Linked DNA regions of Homo sapiens: region 2 is linked to region 1. Evidence: promoter capture Hi-C in 16 types of primary human blood cells and fetal thymus (Javierre and others, 2016). All regions are on one chromosome and are shown on one strand. The core of a region is centred on a gene start or on the middle of the fragment in contact, and the rest is flanking DNA. Distances in the headings are between cores, read along the strand shown.

Region 1 (5,398 bases), core at 2,252-4,751:
AAGCCCCAAAACTTAAGCCACATTCCTCTGGCTCATAATAGTGGAAATCCCAACTCAATTCTGGATGCTACCCCTTCTCAGGAACACAAGTCAGCCAGTGGTTAAGAGTGTGGGCTCTGAAGTCAGACCTAGGTGGGAATCCCAGCTCTTTGACTAACGAGCTGTGTTACAATGGACAAGTTGTCTAACCTTTCTGAGGCTCCATCCTGTGCCATGAAATAAAGTAATGAAACAAGGGCTGAAATTCAGTCCCTATGCACTGTACAGCTAAACTGGTTATTAAAACATAAAAGTACTTCCAAATTGATTGGTAAACAGCCATAGCCTTTGACTCCTTACTATGCTTGCTTCTCCCTGCCTGCCTGACTGATCCAATAACCTAAGTGTTAACTCTTGGCAGAACAGAGAGCTACTAAGACCTTGATCTAGCACTAAGGCCAGTATCCATTCTGATTGATAACGCTCATGCCTGAATGGAGTGTTAGATATTTTTAATATCATCCCTAGTAGTGGTCATCTTCTGGATTAAGTAAGATGATGCAGATAAAGGACTTGGCAGATAGTCTGGTACACAGTGAGGCAATTCAGTCAATGTCAGCTGTTATTGCTTTAAACATCAAACTGAAGGGAACAGAGGCAGGGTCCAATATCAGGGCCTCAAAGTTGAGTATGATGAACAGGTGAAGCTGGGTTATGACTGGCAGTTCAGGAATAGTCACATGGCCCCAAGATGATTCATGGGTGAGGCTGCATGGGTAGTCATGCCTGGAGGATAGGATGGCCAGGAGAAGCCACACTCTGGCCCCCTTGCAGTTCAGGAGGGCTGCTGCTTTTTTTTTTTTTTTTTTTTTTTTTTGTGTGTGTGTGTGTATATCACTCTGTTGCCCAGGCTGGAGTGCAGTGGCGTGATCTCAGCTCACCGCAACCTCTGCTTCCTGGGTTCAAGCGATTCTCCTGCCTCAGCCTCCTTATTTTTGTATTTTTGTATTTTGTATTTTTAGTGGAGGCAGGGTTTTGCCATGTTGGCCAGGCTGGTCTCAAACTCCTGACCTCAAGTGATCCACCCGCCTCAGCCTCCCAAAGTGCTAGGATTACAGGCATAAATCCTGGGTGTGAGCCCAGGAGGGCTTCTTGTTTTCACTACTTCTAGTTTACTGTACTGCTGGAATCCCATATCTTGTTCACCTGAGACAGAAGGGCTGCCCAGGAGGCTGGATTTTGCCTTTCTAATACCTTGGGGAATCAGAAACAAATATTCCAATCTAAGGTCCTTACCCTTAAGGACTTGAAGGACCATAAGAAGAGGCAGTATTGTGTACTGATTAGGAGTGTGGGCTCTGAGGCTAGACTGCTGGGGTTCAAATCCCAGCACTGGAGCTCTCTTTACTAGCAATGTGAACTTGGGTCAGTCACTTAACCGCTCTGTGCCTTGATTTCCTCATCTGTTAAGTAGGAGTAATAATAGAACCTGCCTCACAGAGCTCTTATGGGGAATAAATTGAGTAACTTATTCCCAATTTATATTATATGGTAACATATAATATGCTAGAATAGCACCTGACACAAAGTAAGCTCTCGATACACATTAGCTATTGTTAAGGGGCTCAGGACTCTTAAGTGGAGCAGTCAGATTCATGTCCACATACTTCTGTCCAAGGGACAGTCTTTCTTCACCCACCTGGTTGAAAATTTCCCCCTGCTCCTCTGGACCTCTTGAGCCAGCTCCCACATTTCACAGACTGGGAGGCCCAGAATGAGAAGGGTTTTGCCCACGGTCGTAAATGGAATCATTGGCAAAAATGAGACTCAATGTTAGCAATATGAACTTGGGTCAGTCAATGTTAGGGTTTCAGATACCACTTCTAGTAACCTGTGCTGCCTCTCCCCACTTCTTCACGCCTTGGATTATGGTTAACTGTGAGCAAGGGGGGTTCTCGCTCATCTCTGGGTCCCCAAGACCCAGAGCTGAGAAGGTATCAGAGAAGTGAAAGAGTTAGAGCTTCAAACACCTGTCTTTCATGAGTCACCAACCCATAGTGCCAAGGACGCGCCTTCTCCTACAGCTGCAGGTTCCTTGGAGCCCTCAGCCCCCGCTAAGGCCGCAGAGAGAAGGCATAGTCCGCAGCCTCGAAAATGGTAGAGCAAAACCGTTTCAAGGGGCAACGGGACAGGTCCTAAAGAAAAGGGACGTCCACGGGTTCCTCCCCCAGCGAGCCTGGCCCAGGCATTTCTGGGACCAGCTCCAGAAGCCTCGCCCCCACTCGCGGCAGGTCTGACCCCATCCTCCATCGCCCCGCCCAGCCCACCTCTACCTTCGCCGCGCGGACAGAAGCCCCGCCTCTCACCGCTGCTCTTCAGCGTCCGCGCTCCGATTAGGCCAATCCCCAGCCGTCCGCCCCGACTTTCGACAGATCCTTAGAAGTCCCTGCCCCGCACGTGGCCCAGCCCGGGGATGTCTGGCTCCCCTTTTGCCCCCAGTTTGGCTTAAAAGGGTTCCTTCCCACAGCCTTGTGTCAGGAGCTCTCAGACGCCAGTGCAGCCCAGGCGGCCGGCCCGGGCTGTGGGGAGACCCCCAAGTGCGGGGAGGAGGTGTTGCCGGGGCCCTGAAAGCTTCCAGACCCGCTCAGTGTAAACCGCCTCGGGTTTGTGTCAACATCCGAGGCCGGAGACTGGCGGCGGCTGGGGACCGGCTCCGTCTGCGGGACGGGAAAACGGGAGGGTGGGGAATGGAGGATCCATGGCTAGGCATAGGGGTCCTTCGGGGGAGAACGCGAGAGGCCTCTTGGGGGTCCATGAGAAAGGAGGAGGGCCCGTCTGGGGAGGGACCGGAATGAAGGGCCAGAGGGGTGGCTGGAGGGAACCCACGACTAGCGCGGGGCTAGGTAGAGGCTGGGACTTCGCCACCCATACCGCGCTCTCCGCGCGCAACCAGCACCCTCCTCTCTGCCCCACGGCGTGAGGGGAGTGGATGCGTGGGGAGGGGGGACGCAGAGATGTGGACTGCTGACCAGCCACCTCCTCCCTCTCCCACCCAGCTCCTCCCCAGCTCCTCTTTGGCCCCTCCCAATTTCGGGTGGGATATGGGTGTGGGGGGGGGTCTCATCTTGTGACTCATCCCCTCTTCCGCCCCCACCCATGCTGGGGCCCAGGAAAGGAAGCTTAGAGATTCGGCTGTGGTTCTCCCGTTTCCATAGCAACGGTGAGGTTGTTTTTGAGAATCCACTTTCATCGTCGACCCTTTCCACCCCAGACTTGTAAGCCGGGGGCTGAGCCTCAGGGCAGGGGTGCAGATGGGGGTGCAGCCCTCCCGCTTCCCGGCGACTCCGGGAAGGTCAGCGCGGGCAGGCGGGGCGCGCTCCTGCGGCCGGGCCTCGCCGGCCACCCGGTCCCCACCTGAAACCCCGCCTGCCACTCCGCTCCAGAGGAGCCAATAGCCGTGCAACCTGCCCGGGATGGGGCGGGGCTTATGCAAATAGTGTCGCCTTCGGGAGGCACATAGTGATACAAGAGCTGGAAGGCGGCTCCGGCGCAGACCTTGGAGAGCACAGCTGCCGGCCCGCGAGCCAGCCTCGGTTCCCGCGGCCCGCCGAGGCTCGGAGCCATCCAGCGACCCGGCGACCGGCCTCAGGTAATGCGAGTGGGACCGGGTCCTCAAGGCAACAAACCCACCGGGCGGAGGCCCTGGCCCCCTCCCCCTCCACTCTCCCTTCCCATCCTCATGTCCTGCCCTGATTCACCTCCCTGACCCGTGGTTCCGCCTTAGGCGGCAGCAACTGAAGAGCCCACCCCTGGGCAGGAGACCCCCCACCTCAGTCCAGGCCCATGGGTGCAGAGAAGGAGGCAGAGCCGCCTACTTATCCCCAGCTCAGGTGAGAACAACCATTGCTATGGCCCCCAACATACACGCGCGCAAACACACATACACACACAGATGCACACACACACATCTGGGGGTGTGGTGGCGCTGGTGCTAGCTGGAGGCGCTGGTCACCCTCCCTCCTGTTTGGATATGGGTTGTCTGCCCAGCACCATGGCAAACTCCCACCTCCACGGATAGCCCCTAGCCACTTCTCATCAGGGAGCCCCTGCCCCCAAAGACAGCCTCCCCCTCCACAGAGCGCTCCCTCCTTGTTGTCCCCAGACACTGTCCCCACATCCCACCCCTCAAGCTGACAGAGCCCACAGCATACCTGAGGGGGGGACAATCCCCCTTCCCCAGTTTTTCTCCTCACAGTCTCGACAGCCCTCCCCAGTGGCCCCCAGTGCTAGGCAGAGGCCCCATATTTGGCATCTCTCATCCTGGCGGGAGGATGAACCAAAGACACCACCCCCAGCAGACCACCCATACCGTCAGTCCAGTTGCTGCCAAGGCCCCAACCTCCATACCTCCTCCCTCCCCCCTCACAGCCAGGCACCAAATCCTCTCATTCTGCCTGTCAAATGTCTTTCTAATTTGTATGACTATTTGCTCCCTCTCTCCCACCTTCCTGCTGCTCCGTGGGGACCTTGCCAAGGTGCCATGTGGGCTGTATTGCTCTTGGCCCTAAAGTGAACTATACCTGGAGGGCAGATGAGCTGGGTTCAAATCTTGTACAGCCAAAGTTTGACTTTGGCCAAGTCACTCCCCTCTCTGATCCTTCATGAAAATGGGGAGAGGTATAACAGAGAGGGTAGACTGGGTGAGATGAACTTGAACAGCCTTCTGGCACTGAGACACTCTGGTTCTATGGCTGATTATGGAAAAACAGGATCCTGAACCAAGAGGACATTAAAGAGAGGAGACCTGAGGGGGGCGGGGTTGGTTTAGAACTCACTGAAGACACATTCCTTCTTAACCAGCCTAGGTACAGGCTACCTCCTCCCACACATTCTCCAGGCCCCTTCTATTAGGAGTCCCTCCTAGACCACCAGCCCATCCTGACATGGACAGCTCCAAATTGTAGGTGGCCAGCTGGGATTACTCTTTGTTTGTCATCCCCTGCCTCTCATTAAGAAGAAGAGGGAAAAGACCTGGTTGCTGCTGCTATTGCTGCTGCTTGGGGAAGAGCAAAGGGAGGAGAGGAAAGAGAGAAAAAATCTCCTGACCAGGGAGCTATTGTCACCATGGCAACCACCTCAGTACCAGCTCCTCTGAAGCTGGGTGAGGGTGTGGGATTATTGCCTCCTTCAGTCCCTCCCATTCAAAGCCTCAGCCACCTCTCCATTCAAAGCCCACAGCCCTTAGCCCTCTTGAAGAAACCTCTGGGCACACTGGGACAATGGTTTTGTGTATGGGACAGTCCCAGCTCCTTCATAGCTGGAGGACAGCCCTCAAGAGGTAAGCAGAGGAGCCTGCCCATGTTCAGCAGGGCCACAGCTCCAGCAGAGCATGTCCCCAGCTGGGTTCTGGCCTTCACTT
Region 2 (5,222 bases), core at 929-3,428, 280 kb before region 1:
CTACTTGGGAGGCTGAGGCAGGAGACTCGTTTGAACCCAGGAGGTGTAGGTTGCAGTGAGCAGAGATCGCTCGCCACTGCCCTCCAGCCTGGGCAACAAGAGCGAAACTCCATCTCAAAAAAAAAAAAAAGAAATGTTGTATAGTAGTAGTGGTGATAGTTTGTAGGCTTGTCCCTGACAGTGGAATTCCTAAGTGTGATTTCTTCCCTATTTATATGAAAATGTTGCAAACAAGTGGCAAATGAATTTTTTTGGCCTCCAAACTTGCTCATGTTTGCTGTGTTTAGAAGTCCTACTCATTGTTTCCCAAGATAGAAATCTAGGCATTGCCGGGCTCCATGGCTCACACCTGTAATCCCAACATTTTGGGAGGCTGAGGAGGAAGGATCGCTTGAGCCCAGGAGTTCGAGACCAGGCTTCGCCACATAGCAAGACCTTATCTCTACAAAAAATCAAAAAATGAGACAGGAGGATCGCTGAAGCTTGGGAGGTGGAGGCTGCAGTGAGCCATGATCGTGCCACTGCACTCCTGCCTGGGCGACAGTGAGATGTTCTCTTAAAAACGAACAAACAAAAAAGAAATATAGGCCAGGTGCAGTGGTTCATGCCTGTAATCCCAGCACTTTGGGAGGCCAAGGCGGGTGGATTACAAGGTCAAGAGATCAAGACCATCTTGGCCAAGATGGTGAAACCTCGTCTCTACTAAAAATACAAAAATTAGCTGAGCGTAGTGGCACTCGCTTGTAATCCCAGCTACTTGGGAGGCTGAGGCAGGAGAATCACTTGAACCCAGGAGGCGGAGGTTGCAGTGGGCCAAGATTGTGCCACTGCACTCCAGCCTGGCGACAGAGTGAGACTCCAGCTCAGAAAAGAAAAGAAAAGAAGAAAAGAAAAAGAAATATAGACATCACTTTCATACTCTCTCCCCCTCTCCCTCTCCATCTCAATTATATCCAGTCCTACCAGCTGCCAAATCAGTCCTTTTCTATCTCCACTGCCTCCACTCGTCTTGTACTCATCAATACCACTCATCCTTGGAACATTACATGAGAAGCCTCTTCATTCGTCTTCCAGCTTCCCTTCTCACCTTCTTCAATTCTTTCTCCTCAGAGCAGCTGATAGGTCTTTCCAAACTCTTCATCTATCATATGGCTTCCCTGCTTAAAATTCTTCAATGGCCTCCCTCTGCTCTTAGGATAAGGACCAAAATGCTTAACACAACCCACGAAGCCATGTTGTGGACCATCTGCCTCTGCCTTCATCCTCAGCCTCATCTTGCATCCCATTCCCTCAATCTTTGTGCTCCAGGCACACTGGCCTTTCTGTTCCTTGACTCCACCATGATCTCCCTGGCCTCTGGGCTTTAGCACATGCTGTTCCTTCTCCCTGAGATACTCTCTTTTTTTCTTTGAAACAGAATTTCACTCTTGTTGCCCAGGCTGGGGTGCAATGGCACGATCTCGGCTCGCCGCAACCTCCGCCTCCCAGGTTCAAGCAATTCTCCTGCCCAAGTAGCTGGGATTACAAGCATGCACCACCACGCCTGGCTAATTTTGTATTTTTTGTAGGATGGAGTTTCACCATGTTGGTCAGGCTGGTCTCGAACTCCTGACCTCAGGTAATCCACCTGCCTCGGCCTCCCAAAGTGCTGGGATTACAGGCTTGAGCAATTGTGCCTGGCCTCATTCACTACACTCTGGCCACACTGGTCTCCTTTCTGTCCTTCCGATATTCCAAGCTCTTTGGGGCCTTGGGGTCTGCGTTGTCTCCTCTACTTGCAATGCTTTCCCTCTAAGCTCTCTTCACATTTAGCTAATTCTCATCCTTCATGAGGATCACTTTCTTTTTCTTTCTTTTTTTAAATTTTTTTAATTTTTTATCTTTAGTAGAGATGAGGTCTCACTCTATTGCCTAGGCTGGTCTCGAACTCCTGAGCTCAAGTGATCCTTCCACCTCAGCCTCCCAAAGTGCTAGGATTACAGGCATGAGCCACTGTGTCCAGCCAAATGTTACTTTCTCAGGACATTCTTTCCTGAGCACTTGACTTAAAGTAGTTCCGTACCAGTTTCCTCCATCACATCACCTCGCTTCTTTCATGATGCTTATTACGATCTGAAATTATTTATTTGTCATTGATCTCCACTGAGAATGTAAGCTCTATTTTGTTCACCACTTTGTCCTCAGAGCCTAGTTGGTGTGTGGCATATAGTAGACTCATTGTAAATATCTGTTCGGATCAATGGAATCGATATTCCAAAACAATGTCAGATCTGGAATTTCCTCTTTGAAACGTGGAGGTGCTGCTCCTTTCTTCCAGCAGGTGGCGCCAAAGCTGCACCTGGTCCTTACCAGAGGTGTGGATGGGCTGTGAGGTTGGCAAGACAGGGCAGCAGGGCCGAGTGAAGAGGGAGAGACAGGGTTTGTTGTAGTAATGCTGGATCCAAGCATAGAGGAAGTCAATATGGCTCTTCTCCCAAGAATAAGTAGGTATGATCTGTCCAGAAGGGACCTAGAGTAGCCAATGACCCAACAGACATTGCTTCCCCTCTTCACCCGTCCCACCCCGAAAGAAGTCCCCAAGAATTCAACAGGGGATCTTGGAAGAGGAGAGCAATTTTCTGTGAGTGTGAAACTGGAGAGAAGCAAGGGTGTTCAAGTGTAAATCCCCTGGCCGGGCGCGGTGGCTCACGCCTGTAATCCCAGCACTTTGGGAGGCCGAGGCGGGCGGATCACGAGGTCAGGAGATCGAGACCATCCTGGCTAACACGGTGAAACCCCGTCTCTACTAAAAATACAATAAATTAGCCGGGCGCGTGGCGGGCGCCTGTAGTCCCAGCTACTCCGGAGGCGGAGGCAGGAGAATGGCGTGAACCCGGGAGGCGGAGCTTGCAGTGAGCCGAGATGGCGCCACTGCACTCCAGCCTGGGCCACAGAGCGAGACTCCGTCTCAAAAAAAAAAAAAAAAAGAAAAAGAAAGAAAAAATGAAAAGTCTAAATCCCCATAGGAAGTTTGGGGAAATTGTGACCTGGAGAGAGGTGTCACAGTGGGTCAGTGGGAGTTGGGTCTGATGCCCAGCCAAAGCCTGCTCTGGTCACAGCTCCCATTCACTCAGCTCCACGTGCCTGCCGCACCCCACCATGCCTGGCCCTCGGCTCAGTGTGGGAGACCACGATGAAAGAGACGATCCCTCTGAGATGTCCCAAAGGCAGAGGGGTAGGGACTGCTTCAGAGGGGCTTGCTGGAGTCAAGACACATTGGATGGGTGTCTGCCAGGTAGAGCTGCAGCAGGAGCTGCAAGACCAGGGTCACGCAGGTGGCCTGCAAAAAGAGCTGCATCTAGATCTGGGCCTGGGGAGGTCAGTAGGGTACTCAGACAGGAACTCACAGAAGGATTTCTAGGAAACTTTTTGTTTTGTTTGAGACAGGGTGTCCCTCTGTTCCCCAGGCTGGAGTGCAGTGGCACAATCATAGGTCACTGCAGCCTCAGATTCCTGGGCTCAAGAGACCCTCCTGCTTCAGCTGCCTGGGTAGCTGGAACTACAAGGTGCAAGCCACCACACCTGGCTAATTGTTTTTTGTTTTATAGAATCGGGGTCTTATTATGTTGCCCAGGCTGGTCTTGAACTCCTGGCCTCGTAATCCTCACACCTCAGCCTCCCCAGTAGCTGGGATTACAGGCAGAGCCACTACACCCAGTTTACAGAAATGTTTCTAAACAGGAGAGCTACTGAGTTATCTTGGATAGTTTGCAGAAAGAAGGTGAGGAGATCAAATTAAAGTCAAGGAGACAAGACAGGATGCTTGTCTATTCACCCAGGTAAGAGAGCATAATGCCTGAGAAGTAATTGTGGGGCTAAGAAAGAAACAAGCTTGAGTGGTTTGGAAAACTTTAATTTTTTTTTTTTTTTTTTTTCAGGCAGAGTCTTGCTCTGTTGCCCAGGCTGGAGTGCAATGGCATGGTCTCAGCTCTTTGCAACCTCCGCCTCCCAGGTTCAAGCCATTCTCCTGCCCTCAGCCTCCCAAGTAGCTGGGATTACAGGCATGTGCTACCACGCCTGGCTAGTTTTGTTTTTGTTTGTTGGTTTTTGGTTTGTTTCTGTTTTGAGACTGGTTCTCTCTGTCCCCCAGGCTGGAGTGCAATGGCGCGATCTCAGCTCACTGCAACTGCTGCCTCCTGGGTTCAAGCGATTCTCCTGCCTCCGCCTCCTGAGTAGCTGAGATTACAGGCATGCACCACCACACCTGGCTAATTTTTGTATTTTTAGTAGAGACGGGGTTTCACCATGTTGGCCAGGCTGGTCTCGAACTCCTGACCTCAGGTGATCTGCCCGCCTCGGCCTCCCAAAGTGCTGGGATTACAGGCGTGAGCCACTGCGCCCAGCTGAAAACTTTAATTTTTTTTTTTTTTTAAAGACAGGACTTGGTGGTTACTGGTTAGAGTGGAGGGAGAGAGGAGGTATAAGTGGGCTTCTATAAACATTATCTCAGAGTCTCTGAGCAGGCCAGCTCCAGAGGCCATAACAGACTCTAGGCTCCTGCCTTGCCCAGACAGCCTGACATGAGATGGCTGATACAAAGACAGTGTGTGACTTGCCTTGGTGTTGACAAAACCATTGGTTCACCTAACAGCCTTAAGTAGTGGTTAAGAGCCCAGGCACTATAGCCAACCTCGATTCAAGTATCAGCTCTTCCAGTGACTGTCCAATGACCTTGAGCAGGTTACTTAACTTTTCCCTGCGTCAGTTTCCTTATCTCTTAACGTGAGGATGACAATAATACCTTCCTCATAGGGAAGTTCTGACAACTATCTGAAGACTAACTGAATTCATACTTATTACACACATGTAACCATGCCTGTTAGTAACGCTTAATGTAATTTATCAAAGTAACCTGGCAGAACTTCATCAGTAAAAATGGTGGACCTCCCTCCCACCCAAAACGGAGCCCCACACTCAAGGTAAGAACCAAGCCAGAATAGCCTAAGAGCCTCTCTTGTCTGGGCCTCATTTATCTATTTATAAAATCAGGAGATTTGACTAGTAGCTCCTGATCCTGCCAGCTTTGCCTTCTTGTGATTTTGGGGGCTTGGCCTAAGTGTGAGACCCAGTGGTGTGTTAGGCAAGCTCCTACCAGCTTGTAAAAGCCAACTACTAAATGTTTAGGAAATGTTCAAATGAACAACCATGGATAACTTGAAATTGGCTATGGTGGGAGTTATTCA

Evidence for each region. The method cuts DNA at HindIII sites, captures the fragments that hold promoters and counts their contacts. A CHiCAGO score of 5 or more calls a contact.
Region 2: a contact is called between a fragment that was not itself captured here and the fragment with the promoter of HPCAL4 in region 1, in 1 of 17 cell types (megakaryocytes). The highest score is 5.1, in megakaryocytes.

Annotation. Positions count from the first base shown.
Region 1 is chr1:39,689,536-39,694,933 of GRCh38, reverse strand. HPCAL4 (hippocalcin like 4) reads left to right here and starts at 3,501. Exons shown (of 4, transcript NM_016257.4): 1 at 3,501-3,628. RefSeq lists an enhancer at 2,532-3,122 and silencers at 3,195-3,424, 3,645-3,724, 4,999-5,225. The HindIII fragment of the contact is 11,293 bases long and covers 3,161-5,398 here.
Region 2 is chr1:39,970,790-39,976,011 of GRCh38, reverse strand. No RefSeq gene overlaps it. Among named protein-coding and RNA genes, the nearest start is that of MFSD2A, 18 kb to the right of the region's middle. The HindIII fragment of the contact is 3,388 bases long and covers 485-3,872 here.